Regions from separate parts of the Homo sapiens genome. Here regions 2, 3, 4 and 5 are each linked to region 1. The links are contacts of gene promoters, found by promoter capture Hi-C in human tissues and cell types (Jung and others, 2019). All regions are on one chromosome and are shown on one strand. The core of a region is centred on a gene start or on the middle of the fragment in contact, and the rest is flanking DNA. Distances in the headings are between cores, read along the strand shown. Region 1 holds the start of E2F2 (E2F transcription factor 2). Region 2 has its middle 17 kb from the start of LUZP1. Region 3 has its middle 23 kb from the start of LINC01355. Region 4 holds the start of KDM1A (lysine demethylase 1A). Region 5 overlaps KDM1A (lysine demethylase 1A).

Region 1 (2,730 bases), core at 84-2,583:
GATCAAGGATCAGAGAATTTACAAAATTTGCCTTGGTCACACAATGAATAATAAAGTGTCTGGGCCTGGGTTTGAATTCGGGGCTGTTGGCTACAAAGCCTGGGCTCTTAATCATCATGGGTTATTGCCACCTTGGCCTCAACCATCTAATGAGGAATTAAGCTGTGGACTGTCTCTGGAGGGCTTTGAATGCCAAGGCTCAGACTTGCATAAAAATCACACAGCACCAGGCAAGAAATCAGACCTGAAATCTAGCAGCAGCTTCTAGCAACTTTTTACCACTCACTACCCAAGTTTGCTTCTCTGAGCCTCTCTAAACCGGAGTGATGAGGAATGTATTATCAGCAATGAAGGTTTTTGAATGAGGCAGAGAGGCTCTTGTGACAAAAGGATTGTTTAAAAGAAACCTAGAGATGTTCAAACATTTACTGAGTATTGGGTCCTAATAATACAACTGTGAACAAGACAAAGCTCTGCAGTGGGACTCTGACCCTGCTGTGCCCCCAGGCAGCTTGGGAGAGTAGAAGAACCCCTTAACTGGAAAAACAAGGGCTCCAGAGCTGGGACCTGTCCCAGATTCTGTTGCCAGCTCTCAAATCAGGGAATCTCTCTGTATGACCTTGGGCAAGTTACCCAGCCTTTCAGACTGTCAGTCTTTATCATGGGGATCATCATTCCTCTTCCCAGGATTGTTGGAATAAATTAACTAAAACAACGCTTGTAAGGATCTAGCATGGTGCCTGGCATCCTGTAGGCGCTGAATAGATGTTAGTTTTCCCTACAAAGAAGTAGACTAGTTTGCCTCCGTCCCTCACCCCTCTGCCATTAAAGGGAACAGGTTCCTGGCCTTCATTTTAGCAGGAAAGGGGATATGAATGCACATGTGCTAGCTAAGCAACAATGCAAACTAACAAAAGGGCCTGTGGCCTGGGGAATACACTGCTGGGTCTGGGCTCAGGCTGGGACCCCGCGCCAAAATGTTTCCCTTCAATCCCAGGGAATCCGGGCCCATTTCTCGGGGCGCTGTGCACTGCTCTGGCCGCCTCTGCACTGTGAATCCCGGAACCACCCTCTGTCTCCGTCTCGCCGGCTGCTAACTAGCGCGGCCGGCGGCTGGCGGCACCAACAGCAGGTGTGGCTGCCCCTTTAAGCAGCGAAGCTAGTGTTGCAATCGCCGCCTCGAGGACGCGTTCTTTCCGGGGGGGGGGGGGGGGGTGGAGCCTGTACTGTCGCAGCAGCCAACCGGAGCGCGGCATTTTCCGCGGGAGATCCGAATTTCGCGGCACGACGTTTGGCGCTAAAAAAAAAAAAAAAAGAAGAAAAAAAAGAGGCAGAGAAAGACTCAAGGACTAGAGAGCGAGCCGCAAGGAAGTCGGTGCAGTCGAGACCCCCCTCCCCATCCCAGCGCATCGCGTCTCCGCCGAGCTTGAGGGCACGCCGGGGACCCCTCCCCAGAGCCGGCCGGACCCCAGGTGCCGAGGCCTTGGGGAGCGCGGGGCGTCCCGGGTCGCGGTGCCCTCGGGACGAGACAGCCCCTGGCAGTGCCACCACCGCAGCCGCCGGGCGATCTCCAAGCGGCGATCTCTAAGCGCTGCTCTCTGCTCGGCCGCGGGCCAGGAGGGGAGGGTCCGGCCTTGCCCCGCAGGCGTCCATTGGCGGCTTCCCCCGGCCTCCGCGCCATGCCGCGGGCCGTGTGAAAGGCGGCAGCACCGGAACCCGCAGGTGTCCGCGGGCGCGCCAAGCCCTTTTGGGTAGGGGGCGCCTTACTCGCTATGCTGCAAGGGCCCCGGGCCTTGGCTTCGGCCGCTGGGCAGACCCCGAAGGTGGTGCCCGCGATGAGCCCCACAGAGCTGTGGCCATCCGGCCTCAGCAGCCCCCAGCTCTGCCCAGCTACTGCTACCTACTACACACCGCTGTACCCGCAGACGGCGCCTCCCGCAGCGGCGCCAGGCACCTGCCTCGACGCCACTCCCCACGGACCCGAGGGCCAAGTTGTGCGATGCCTGCCGGCAGGCCGGCTGCCGGTAATGCTGGGGGCCCCCACCGCTTCCCCCTATGCTTTTCCAGGTGTGGGAAAGGAGGGAGGGGTGCCTGAGATCCAGTTTGAGTGGAGCAGGTAGAGTTTTGGGAAGAGGGAAGATGAGCTTTCAGTTTCCAGGACCCAGTGCCCCCAATATCTGAGTAGAAGACCCCTTCATTTTCAGACTTTGGATGAAATAATCTCATCCATTCTAGTGGAGTGGAATGAGCACTGGATTGCGAGTCTGGAGGGAGACCCAACTCACTACTCCCAGTGCACTGTGTGACCTTGGGGAAGTCCATGCAGCCAGCGTTGCCGCCATTCATTCATTACTTCATTGTTTGGCCAGAAACCAGTACTGGGTGCCTGCTATTGTCCAGGCAAAGAGTATGGCCTGGGGACACTGTGGGACTTTGGTAAGACAGAGGGATAGGTCTAGTGGGTCTCTCACATCCAATCTGCCATGGACAGACTCCAAATTGTCCAGCCAGCTCCTGAGATAGCCCCAAGTATCTGCCCTAGGTCCTCCCCCAGGCCCAGTCTTCCCTCCCAGACAGCCATGTAGCAGATACAAATGTGGGCAGCCCCCTTGGGTTCTGTTCAGATTGGCTGCTCTCTCCTCAAGCTCCCAGGCTCGTTGCCAGAGAGGGCCCAAAGTGTAGTGGCACCAGGCTGCCTGCTGACCTGGGCTCAGGGTGTGTTTTGTGGGA
Region 2 (2,834 bases), core at 233-2,732, 350 kb after region 1:
AGTTCAAGCCTGTAATCCCAGTACTTTCTGAGGCCTAGGTGGGCGGATTCCTTGAGCTCAGGAGTTTGATACCAGCCTGGGCAACATGGTGAAACCCCATCTCTACAAAAAAACACAAAAACTAGACAGGTTTGGTGGCATGCACCTGTAGTCCCAGCTACTCAGGAGGCTGAGGTGGGAGAATCCCTTGAACCTGAGAGGTTGAAGCTGTAGTGAGCCATGTTCATGCCACTGCACTGTAGCCTGGGTGACAGAGCAATACCCTATCTCAAAAAATAAAACAAAAATAAATAAATAGCAAAGTCAGAATTACATCTAGCAGTATGACCTGAGAGCCAGCATGGCTAGCCATCAGCCTCTACCACCTCCTTGGCAACACTTGTACCAGTTGTTTGAGAGGGTGCTCATCACCTTTCTCTATTTTTTTTTTAAGACAGAGTTTCGCTCTATCGCGAGGCTGCAGTGCCGTGGCACGATCCCGGCTCACTGCAAACTCCGCCTCCTGGGTTCAAGCGATTATTCTGCCTCAGCCTCCTGAATAGCTGGGACCACAGGCATGCGCCACCACACCCAGATAATTTTTTTTTTTTTGTATTTTTAGTAGAGACGGGGTTTCACCATGTTGGCCAGGATGGTCTTGATCTCTTGACCTCGTGATCCGACCGCCTCGGCCTCCCAAAGTGCTGGGATTACAGGCATGAGCCACCGCTCCCTACCCTTTCTGTATTTTTTTAACCATAGCTACACTAACCCAAAACTAGTCAGGTGCCAGGCCTTGCACTTGGCACTTTATTTATTTTTATTATTTATTTTTGAGACAGAGTTCCACTCTTGTTGCCAGGGTGGAGGGCAATGGCGCAATCTCAACTCACTGCAACCTCCACCTCCCGGGTTCAAGCGATTCTCCTGCCTCAGCCTCCTGAGTAACTGGGATTACAGGCACCTGCCGCCATGCCCAGCTAATTTTTGTATTTTTAGTAGGGATGGGCGTTTCACCATACTGGCCAGGCTGGTCTCAAACTCCTGACCTCGTGATCCGCCCACCTCAGCCTCCCAAAGTGCTGGGATTACAGGCATGAGCCACTGTGCCTGGCCCACTCGGCACTTTAAACATGCTTTCTATGATTCCCTCATAACATAAAAAAAAAAAGTCAAATTGAAGATAAACTTAGAACTTGGCCAGGCGTGGTGGCTCATGCCTGTAATCCCAGCACTTTGGGAGGCCTGCATGTTCCTGCATGTTCCATATTATGCCCATTTTATATGTGAGAAAACTGAGGTTCAAAGTCATGAGGGAACTTGCCAAGCTTAAAAGCACATTAGGGACAGACTGAGATCAAATGCATATTTGTTCTTTATTGAGCTCTGACTGAAAGCTTCCCTTGGTTTTGGGGAAAGAAAAATCTGTCTCCCAGAAGTGGCAGCCCCTGGTTCCTAGTTCTCAAAGCCCACGTGCTCTCTTCAGATGTTTGAAGTGGACACATTGCACCCCTTCAGTATTTTATATACCACAGTCAGAGAGTGGCTCCTTCAACTCTTCCCCATAAAATGTGATTTTGAGGTCCCCCCAGCCATCATCTTGTTCATCATCCTATGGATAAGTTATACTTTTTCCATGTTCCAGTCAAAGTTCTGATCCCAAAATGGAACACAGTTCTCTAGACACGGACAGAAGGACTATCATCTCCCTCACTGTACACACAGTGCTTCTATTAATATAGCCCCAAACCCAATAAAGTATCTCCTATGTACAAAGCACTGCCCATGCACTTGGGATAGAGATTGAACAAGCCAGCAACTTCCCTGCCCTCCGGGAGCTTACATTTTGCTCACTGAGCTAAGGGAGGAGGCAGAGTCACTTTAGACATGAATCCTAGAATGTCAGAGCTGGTAGCGCCCAGTCCCCTCCTGCCTCTTTCTTTTTTTGAGAGGGAGTCTCGCTCTGCCACCCAGGGTGAAGTGCAGTGGTGTGATCTCAGCTCACCAAACCTCCACCTCCCAGATTCAAGTGATTCTCCTGCCTCAGCCTGCCGGGTAGCTGGGACTACAGGTGGCTGCCACCACGCCCGGCTAATTTTTGTATTTTTAGTAGAGATGGGGTTTCACCATGTTGGCCAGGCTGGTCTCAAACTCCTGACCTCAGGTGATCCACTTGCCTCAGCCTCCCAAAGTGCTGGGATTACAGGTGTGAGCCACCGCACTCGGCCTCCTGCCTTTTTTATTAACAGATGAGGAAACTGATCCCAGAAGGGGCAGTGACAGACCCAAGATTCTTCAGTGGGACAAAATTCACTTCTGCCTTTCTCATAACCTCAGGCACTGGTGAGACCTGGGGCCTTATAGAGAAATGTGGACTGGGATGAAAAGTTTGCTGTTGAGAATTTTGTTGTTAAGTGGACCCACCCTACACCTCCTTAAAGCTTTCTTCAGAAATCCTAATTTATTTTAGATATGGCCACCAGGTGGCGCAGAGGCACCAGGAAAAAGTGCAGAAATCAAAGGTGGGTGGGCTCCTTCCTCTTCCGATCAATTTTCCTTTGCAAGGGGGAATGGTGAGCGGGGAATAGCAAAGCCAGCCTGGCGCGGTGGCTTGTACCTGTAATTGCAGCACCTTTGGAGGCCGAGGCAGGTGGATCTCTTGAGCTCAGGAGTTTGAGACCAGCCTGGGCAACACGGTGAAACTCCGTCTCTACAAAAAACACAAAAACTAGCTGGGTGTGGTGGTGCATGCCTGTAGTCCCAGCTATTCAGGAGGCTGAGGTGGGAGAATGCCTTAAGCCTGGGAGGTCAAGGCTAGGACAGCATTGTACTGTATACATTATACATATATACAT
Region 3 (2,724 bases), core at 208-2,707, 270 kb after region 1:
GAGGCTGCCATAATCATGCCACTGCACTCCAGCCTGAGCAATGAAGCAAGACCTCGTTAAAAAAAAAAAAAAAAAGGAAGGAAGGAAGGAAAAGAGAAAAGAGCTGTAAAAAACAAAACAAAACAAAACAAAAACAAGCTTCGTCATAGTATCATGCTTGGAGACAGTGCCAGGGATGGAATACAGCAACTTAAACAAACAACAGCCCTTTATATGGCAGCATAAACTGAAACAGCTCCCCTTTCCTCCTCCAAGATGAGGGGAGAAGCTTGGGCTGAGCTGGGCACCTTTTAATGTTTCCTAATTTGAGGAAGCTTTGTAATACAATTCAGGGCAAGACGGGGGAAAGGCACCTTTTGCATAATAAGACCAGAGCTATCTAACAGCAAATAGGATACAAATCAGGGTAACAGAAGAATACTAACTTGTCACTCAGAAAGGCATGCTCTCCAGGAGACCAATTCTCATGGGAGAGGAGTGTTTGCTTTCAGATGTTTACCAGACTAGAGGTTCAGCCTGGAAGCACCCAGAGATCCCTTCCTCACCCATGGAACCAGGGCTCGCCTTTGCATTGGACAGGGCTGGCCTAAAGAGAGACAACAATGAGAAGAGAGAAGAGAGTCAGGGAGCATGGGAGCAACTGCAGGACACCCTCTCTGTCACCCAGGATACATTTGTAATGCAAAGAGCTGAACAATCCATCCCAACTCCCTCTACTGTCTTCCCAAGACCAAGAGAGATAATGGATCTGAGAGTCTCATAAAATGCAATTTGGGTGCAATCAATGACCACCCAAGAAGAGTTTGGCAACCTCTTTCTTCAGGTTTCCTCCCTGGAGCACAAGCTTTCTCAGCCAAGGCACTATTGACCTTTTAGGCCTGTCAATTCTTTGTGGAAAACCACGGCTCCAGCAGAGGCACAGGTGGATTTATTGAGTTGCTAATGAAGTCGTGGCCTCAAAACCCTTCATTTACACTATTAGCTCCTTCCAAAGAGCTGAGGGAGGTCCTAATGAATGATGTGTTCACAGAGTGAACGTTTTTTGTAAAATTTGTTAAAAACATTTTTTAACTGCAATTGGTTAAGATCACTCAGTCACACATTATCTCCTTTTACTCCAGCACTTTCTTATAAAAATTTGTATTTTTGTGGCTTTTTTTTTTTTAGAGAGGGGGTCTTGCTCTGTCACCCCAAGGCTGGAGTGCAGTGGCTCAACCATGGCTCATTGCAACCTCCAATTCCTGGGCTCAAGGGATCCTTCCACCTAAGCTTCCCAAGTAGCTGGGACTGCAGACGGGAGCCACTACTATGTCTGATAATTTTTTTTTTTTTTTTTTTTGAGACGGAGTCTCGCTCTGTCACCAGGCTGGAGTGCAATGGTGCGATCTCGGCTCACTGCAACCTCTGCCTCCTGAGTTCAAGCGATTCTCCTTGGTTGCTGAGTTCAAGCGAGTAGCTGGGACTACAGGCGCACGCCACCACACCCAGCTAATTTTTGTATTTTTAGTAGAGACGGGGTTTCGCCGTGTTGGCCAGGATAGTCTCGCTTTCTTGACCACGTGATCTGCCTGCCTTGGCCTCCCAAAGTAGAGTCGGGGCTCACTGTGTTGCCCGGACTGGTCTTGAATTCCTAGCCTCAAGTGAACCTGCCAAAGTGCTGAGATTACAGGCATGAGTCACCACACACAGCCAAAATTTGTATTTGTAATTTTTAATCATTTTTCTTTTTTTTTTTTTTTAATTCATACAGAGTCTCGCTCTGTCGCCCAGGCTGGAGTGCAGTGGCGCGATCTCAGCTCACTGCAAGCTCCGCCTACCGGGTTCACCGCACTCTCCTGCCTCAGCCTCCCGAGTAGCTGGGACTACAGGCGCCCGCCACCACGCTCGGCTAATTTGTTGTATTTTTAGTAGAAACGGGGTTTTACCATGTTAGCCAGGATGGTCTCGATCTCCTGACCTCATGATCCACCCGCCTCGGCCTCCCAAAGTGCTGGGATTACAGGCGTGAGCCACCGCGCCCGGCCTTTTTTATCATTTTCTTAAAGATGGTCCCCCCCAGTAGCCTAAGCTTCAGGCCCCACAAAACCCAGATCTGACCCTAGAGTAAGACAATCCTTGCTTCTACCCCATCCTCACATACTCAAAGTTTTTAAACCTCTTTAGGCATCAGTTTCATTTGAAAAATTGGTTTATTAATGGTGATTTCCTAAGATTCTTGTGAAAACTAAGTGATAAAATGGAAACTGCTTAGCCTACTGCCTAGAACAACCACACACTCAATACATGGTAGCTGTTATGAAAATAGTGATATATTCATTTCCTGATAGTGGAAATCAAATGTGGTGACCGCTTCAGTTGGGAGAAGGACTACCAGCTTCCTGATGGCGGGAAACCACGATGACACTGAGGAGCTAAAACATTTGGCTAGAACCATCACCAAGGAAAAAGTCTGGTTTTGAAAATGATGCCAGGCACGGTGGCTCACATCTGTAATCCCAGCGCTTTGGGAGGCCAAGGCAAGCATATTGCTTCAGCCCAGGAGTTCAAGACCTGCCTGGGCAACATGGCAAAACCCTGTCTCTAGCATTGCAACATAGTGAGACCTCATCTCTACAAAAAATACAAAAATTAGCTGAGTGTGGTGGCATGTGCCTGTAGTCCCAGCTACTTGGGAGTCTGAGGTGGGAAGATTGCTTGAGCCCAGGAGGTCAAGGCTGCAGTGAG
Region 4 (2,700 bases), core at 199-2,698, 510 kb after region 1:
TAATACTGCCCCAGTGCCCTGCACACAGTGTCCCATGTGGTCCTTTGTTTCAAGGGCTGATGATACCCTGTAACAACATGAATGTGGGAATTACATTCCACTTCCATCACTTATTTAGCTTTGTGACTTTAGGCAAGTTGCTTAAATTGTGTGCCTCAGTTTACTCATTCCTAAAATAGGGCTAGCAATACCTGCCCGTTGATATTTAACAACAACAAAAAAAAGTAATGTTGGTGACACGCTGAATATAGCATCTAGGACACAGACATTTGAGGCAGTCACTGTCTGTATATACTGTTTGGAGTCAAATCTTTTCTTCCCATATATTTGCATTTTGACTATTATTTGCTCTCTCAATCAGCAGCTTCCTCATCTGCAAAATTCTGCGCCAAAAGATCGCTGAGAGGATTTTAAAAAAGAAAAAAAAAAAGACTAGAACTCCTACCACACAGCAGGGTTTTGCTCAAACAAAAACAAAAGCAAAAACGACCCTTTCTTTTCATCTCCCCGGCTAAGGCGATTTCTTCAGCATCAACCTACAGCCCCCTCGTGCACCCAGCTGAAACGCCATCAATATCGCCCAACAGCTTCCAGACCTATCTGTGAACAAACAAGTGAGGTCTCCAAGAACGCCAACCGTAACCCCACGTCAGGGAGCCATTTTCCAGTCAAGAAAATGAAAAGGTGTGCAAGAAAGACCTAAGGAATAAAATACCCCTCCCAGCAATCATCGATGCCCCTTCCCACGTCGCTCGGGACCCAGCACAAAGACCGCAGTCAACACCGGCAAAGACTTTTCCTTTCTCACCCCACCCGTCCAGCTAGAGGGGACGTGGCGTGCGCAGCGATACAAGGGGAGGTCTGAGTGGTCGCAGGGCCCAAGACCCGGCGGCGGCGGGGGAGGGCGGAGAAGCCTCGGGGAAGCTCGGCACCAGGCGGTGTCGTTTGAGGGAAGGGTCGAGCCTTACCTTCGCCCGCTTGCGCCGGCTGGTCCGACGCCCCTCCGGAGTCTCTGCTATTCCAGTTTCCATGGGGGTCGCAGACCCAGGCACGACAGTAGGGCCGGCCTGAGGCCCTGCGGACCCCGGCGGTTCCGCCAGGCCCCCGGGGGGCGAGGCCCGCGGAGGCTCTTTCTTGCGGGGTGTGCGCTCCCCCACCGCCCCCGGCCCGACCTCGGCTGGGCCCGACAGGCCCGCGGGCTGCGCGGCCACCTCAGACCCGTTCTCGGAGCCGCCTGCTGTCCCAGGGCCAGCCTCCGTCCCGGTTGCTGCCGCTGCAGCCGCCGCCGCCGCGGCTGCCGCCTTCTTCCCAGATAACATCTCGGGCCGCCGGGCCGCCGACGGCCGTAGGGGCCGCTCGCTCTGTCGCTCCGTGGGTCCGAAAAGCCTTGCCTCGCCTCGCTTCACGCTGCCCGCGCGCCGCCAACCGCCGTCGCGTACGCACGCGCCAAGCGCGCTCCCGCCGCGCCGGGACAAAAAGGGTCGGAGACACCCACGAGCCCCGCCCCTCCCCCGCAGCCATAGAGCGGCGTTCTCGCGGCTAGAGTGGCACCGCAGCAAAGAACGTGTAGCTTGCCTAGAGCGTCTCCCCGGCGTTTGGAGTGGGACCTGGCACAGTCCGTGGTCTTAGGGCTTCTGGGCCAGACTAAACCTCCGAAGGTGACCATTTCCTCCAGGGACTTTCGGGTTTGCATGCGTGCGTTCGTTCATTCACTCACCCAATTATTCGTTAATTCAACCAGTATTTATTAATGCTTGCCTACTACGTAACAAGGGTTACATTATGAAGTTCTAGCTTTCAAAGAACTTACAGTCTAATGGGGGAAAACACTGAAATATGTTGGTAGAGCGTCTTACTTATTCATAATTGCCCTGCTTGGACTGGGCAAAAAACTTGGAGAGCACAGCAGTTTCGATGGTAGTAAAATGGAGACAAGTTACGAAATCCAGGTTTGAGTCCAGACGGAATTGCTCTTGTCTCCAAGCCTTTGTTCATGCTTTTCCTTCTGGCTGGACCCCAACCTCATTCGCACTCCATGTCTTGCGCTTCTCCCATCCCCCATGTCCCCCATCCCCCATGTCCCCCATCCTTCATGTCCCCCATCCCCATCCACATAACACCTCTTTCTACTCCAGGTTAATTCTTTCTAATAATGATAGTAGCGGTTTATTCTTTTAATTTTTCGAGGAATCCCTTGCTAACCCAAAACTGGAACAGGTCGTGTACTTTTAGCATGCGTGTACTTATTACACAAACAATTGTCTTTTTAATAGTCTGTCTCTTCGAAGTGAAATTGTCAAAAAATTATTCCATTTACATGAAGTTCAAGAACTGGTAAAACTAATCTCCAGTAATAGGCTCCAATCAGCCCTTGCCTGAGATGGGGGTCGGGGGTTGACTGCAAAAGAACAAGAAAGAACTTGCTGGGGGTGATGGAAATGTTTTATATCTTGATTAGGGTGATGGTTACATAGGTGTATATATTTGTCAAAACTCTATGAACTATCCATGTAAAACAGGTATGTTTTATGTAACTGTAGTACTTCAGTAAAGTTGTTTTTTGTAAAAAACTAAGCAAACAGACAAAAAGGCAATCAAATGTAGAAAGGAAAAAAAGTAAAAGCTATGCAAGAAAGAAAATGTATCCGAGTGGCGTGGCACGCACTTGTAGTACCAGCTGCTCGAGAGACTGAGGTGGGA
Region 5 (3,004 bases), core at 47-2,546, 490 kb after region 1:
AGAATACAAATGATTTTAATAACATCCTAAAAGTACCAACAGTACACATTAATTCAGAAGTAATTTACACTTGGCTCTGATAGTTTTGTACTCTGGTGTTTGCGTTTTCCATTAAGTAATGGAATCTGGTATTCTGAAAATTTAGAATGTTTCCAAAACGTTGTCTTTGAAACATTCAAAAATTATTAAAAAGCTCCAAGTTGCCTAAATACCAGTCTTACTTTCTGTTCAGTTCCTTCCTGCTCACCACCTTTATACAGGAAATTCCAGCATCACCTTTCAGAATGCAGTCACTCTAAAGCAGAACTGCCCTTTCTAATGGTCTGACTGGCTTATACTTTCTCTGAATACATAATAAATGTAGTTAAATATTTGAAGGAATAATTTAGACCTTTTGAAGTAGGTTAATTAGAAGTAGAAAAAGCGGGAGAGGCAGGTGAGATGACAGGTCCTCTATTCCATTAAATCACTTCCTCTTGATTCGTGTAAGATATAGGTAGCATCTTGACTGCAGTAAGGTAATAGAGATATAAAAATTAACAAAGAAAAGAAGGCCTCCATGAGAGTTACTTGCCTTTAATTTTTTATATCAAGTAGATAACTATAACTAGATTTCTAGCGTGAAAATAAAAGCCTGAGGTGATCTACATATTAAAGACTTTACTTAATATGAGAAAACTAGAGATGTATCATATCAAGTCCTAGAATGTTTTAAAATAAAAGGAATAAGGAATAGGGGGAGGAGAGAGAAAACGAAAAGAGAATTGTACAACCTCCTATACTTCAGAGTTTTTAATTTCTAGGGTAAACACTATTTTAAAGGATTCTAAGGGTGTAAGGAATAGTCTTTGCACTAAGAAGCAAGATCCCTGGGTTCTCCTTCTCCAGAACTGCTGGTGTATTGCTGGTCAATCTATTTAACTTCTTTGGGTTTCAGATCCTAATCCATAAAATAAGGGAGATAAAATACTGTTTGAAGGCAGGAAGTTAGACAAGATGACCTCAAGTTCTCTTCTAGCTCTAAGATTTAGGATGTGTACACCAACTTGAGGTGGGTTTTAAGAAGTCAAGATATGATCCTGGCACCAAGATACCCATGAGGGTCATCTGGCTTCATTAAGAGAAGAATGTTGATCTCTTACAAGCACATTTCTAACCCTGATTGATCATTTCACAAATGCATGCTTCTGAACGTGACAAAGATTGGAAGAGAGATCTTGAAGGTTTTACAACAGTCACCATCATTCCTGGAAACACTTAAAATTCATGTTCTACTAACAGTAATCAGCAGCACACTTTTATATGAAAGTCTGCTTTCACTTTCAGCAATATATGATATTGTTTACTTAATGCAAAAGAGCAAATAGTCACACACAAAAAAAAAACAGAAACAAAAAACAAGAAAACTCAACTTCTTTCTTCAAGATTAGAACTCTAAAGGCCATCCCTGATCTTCAACAGTTCCATGGAAGATCTAATTGTGCGTCATTTGATGAAAAGCATTCTTCAAGGTTTATATGCCACAGATCTAGACTCTGAACAGGGTTTAATTCTGCTAAGATAACCATGTACTGATTATCAACCTGCAATCCTTGGGACAGCATTTTTAAAAGTCTGCTCCTAACATTCTGGATCCCCTTATTACTAATTGCTGTATTAACAATGAACTACCTTTAGTTCAAGAGAGTGAAATAGAAACAGTCCCAGGACCTGTTATATGCAAACTGCAAAACAAATAATTTTAAAGTAGACTTAAGACAGTTGAAAAGTGACAACCTCCAAAAGTGAAGTAGTGCCTATTCCAATTCTATCAAAACGTATCTATAAACCAGCTTTGAGCAACTGGAACAAAAACATCCTTCAAGAGACAAAGGATGAAATCCAGATACGTTATTTTGGATTGCTGGGATAAATTTTAACTGTTCCAGATGGTGGCCCCTATAAATTCTTTACTTTTTCCTAGAAGTAAAAATCTCATACTGTTTGGTCTGAACAGAAAAAAGTATTTCAGACTTTTCAAAAGACATTTTTCACATGAGAAACAAAATGTTTAAACTGAAGAATGATTAACTACGTAATGTTAACTGAAAAAAGGTACCCAATACCCTGTAACAACCATTTTTAAAAAGATGTCACTTGCCCACATAGTTCCTCTGACTAGTCCTAGAATGCCTCTCAGTCCCGTTTGTTTTTGCTTTTAGACTTTTGAGCCTGTGACTTTTCCTCTCTGTGTATACTGCTGTATTTCTCTTTAAGGGTCCCATGATTCCTAAGTCTATGTTCTATATCATGTTTACTATTAATAGAAAGGCTGCTGGGGAGAAAAGTACCCGCCATCTCCTCGAAAACACAAAGAGTGGAGGGCTGAGATCGGCCTGAGGACTTCAAAAGGTTTTGCTTGCCTTTGTTCTCACTACACTCTCTCCTACTATACTATTATGTCCTGTGGGTTAAATTTCACCTGCGCTTCTGGCTAAAATGTGGATACCACAGCCAAAAACACTTGCAAGCATCAATTCCTACTTGGCGGCTCTTGCTACTAAGTGGCAAGCATCTAATGCCACCCTCACCTGATGCTTGGCCGTCTCCATACCCTCCAGAACTGTCGTCTTGAAGTCCTCCTGCTTGCCCTGTGGAAGGAAAGAGGAGAACTCAGGGACCTTACTCCATAAATTAGGATAATATCTGGACATAAAGGCCTAATAGTTGGCGACTCATGAATTCACCACCAACTAGTAAACCCATATTCAGAGAGCTCCTTCTTCTGGAATCAAGGCCCAGGGAATTACATCATAGTCTTCCAAATTCTGGTCAGGAAGTTTCAACTTTACATGTTGATTCTTGTTGAAAGGCAGTGGAACAAAGTACATAGTATTTCTAATCACTAAATCCTTGCTGTCAGTCTTATTTAATATTAATAGTCTGGATGGGGGAAAATGGATTCCGAGTGTCTTTTACTAACGGCTGCTAGACTGAAAATGGAGCTGACATAGACTCTAGAATC

What was found. The method cuts DNA at HindIII sites, captures the fragments that hold promoters and counts their contacts. A contact is called where the count stands out against the background at its distance.
Region 2: a contact is called between a fragment that was not itself captured here and the fragment with the promoter of E2F2 in region 1, in 1 of the 25 tissues and cell types used here (IMR-90 fibroblasts).
Region 3: a contact is called between a fragment that was not itself captured here and the fragment with the promoter of E2F2 in region 1, in 3 of the 25 tissues and cell types used here (H1 embryonic stem cells, bladder and dorsolateral prefrontal cortex).
Region 4: a contact is called between the fragment with the promoter of KDM1A here and the fragment with the promoter of E2F2 in region 1, in 3 of the 25 tissues and cell types used here (adrenal gland, heart right ventricle and mesenchymal stem cells).
Region 5: a contact is called between a fragment that was not itself captured here and the fragment with the promoter of E2F2 in region 1, in 1 of the 25 tissues and cell types used here (mesenchymal stem cells).

What each region holds. Positions count from the first base shown.
Region 1 is chr1:23,529,836-23,532,565 of GRCh38, reverse strand. It overlaps E2F2 (E2F transcription factor 2), which reads left to right and starts at 1,333. Exons shown (of 7, transcript NM_004091.4): 1 at 1,333-2,024. The coding sequence starts at 1,773. RefSeq lists silencers at 1,102-1,241, 1,779-1,927. The HindIII fragment of the contact is 9,154 bases long and covers 1-2,730 here.
Region 2 is chr1:23,184,488-23,187,321 of GRCh38, reverse strand. No RefSeq gene overlaps it. Among named protein-coding and RNA genes, the nearest start is that of LUZP1, 17 kb to the right of the region's middle. The HindIII fragment of the contact is 4,187 bases long and covers 1-2,834 here.
Region 3 is chr1:23,261,625-23,264,348 of GRCh38, reverse strand. No RefSeq gene overlaps it. Among named protein-coding and RNA genes, the nearest start is that of LINC01355, 23 kb to the left of the region's middle. RefSeq lists an enhancer at 238-1,072. The HindIII fragment of the contact is 3,246 bases long and covers 1-2,724 here.
Region 4 is chr1:23,018,216-23,020,915 of GRCh38, reverse strand. It overlaps KDM1A (lysine demethylase 1A), which reads right to left and starts at 1,448. Exons shown (of 21, transcript NM_001009999.3): 1 at 969-1,448. The coding sequence starts at 1,319. RefSeq lists enhancers at 271-956, 957-1,644 and a silencer at 1,132-1,201. The HindIII fragment of the contact is 14,593 bases long and covers 1-2,700 here.
Region 5 is chr1:23,044,053-23,047,056 of GRCh38, reverse strand. KDM1A (lysine demethylase 1A) reads right to left here. Exons shown (of 21, transcript NM_001009999.3): 3 at 2,571-2,630. It overlaps MIR3115 (microRNA 3115), which reads right to left and starts at 2,752; the gene lies at 2,685-2,752. The HindIII fragment of the contact is 7,190 bases long and covers 1-3,004 here.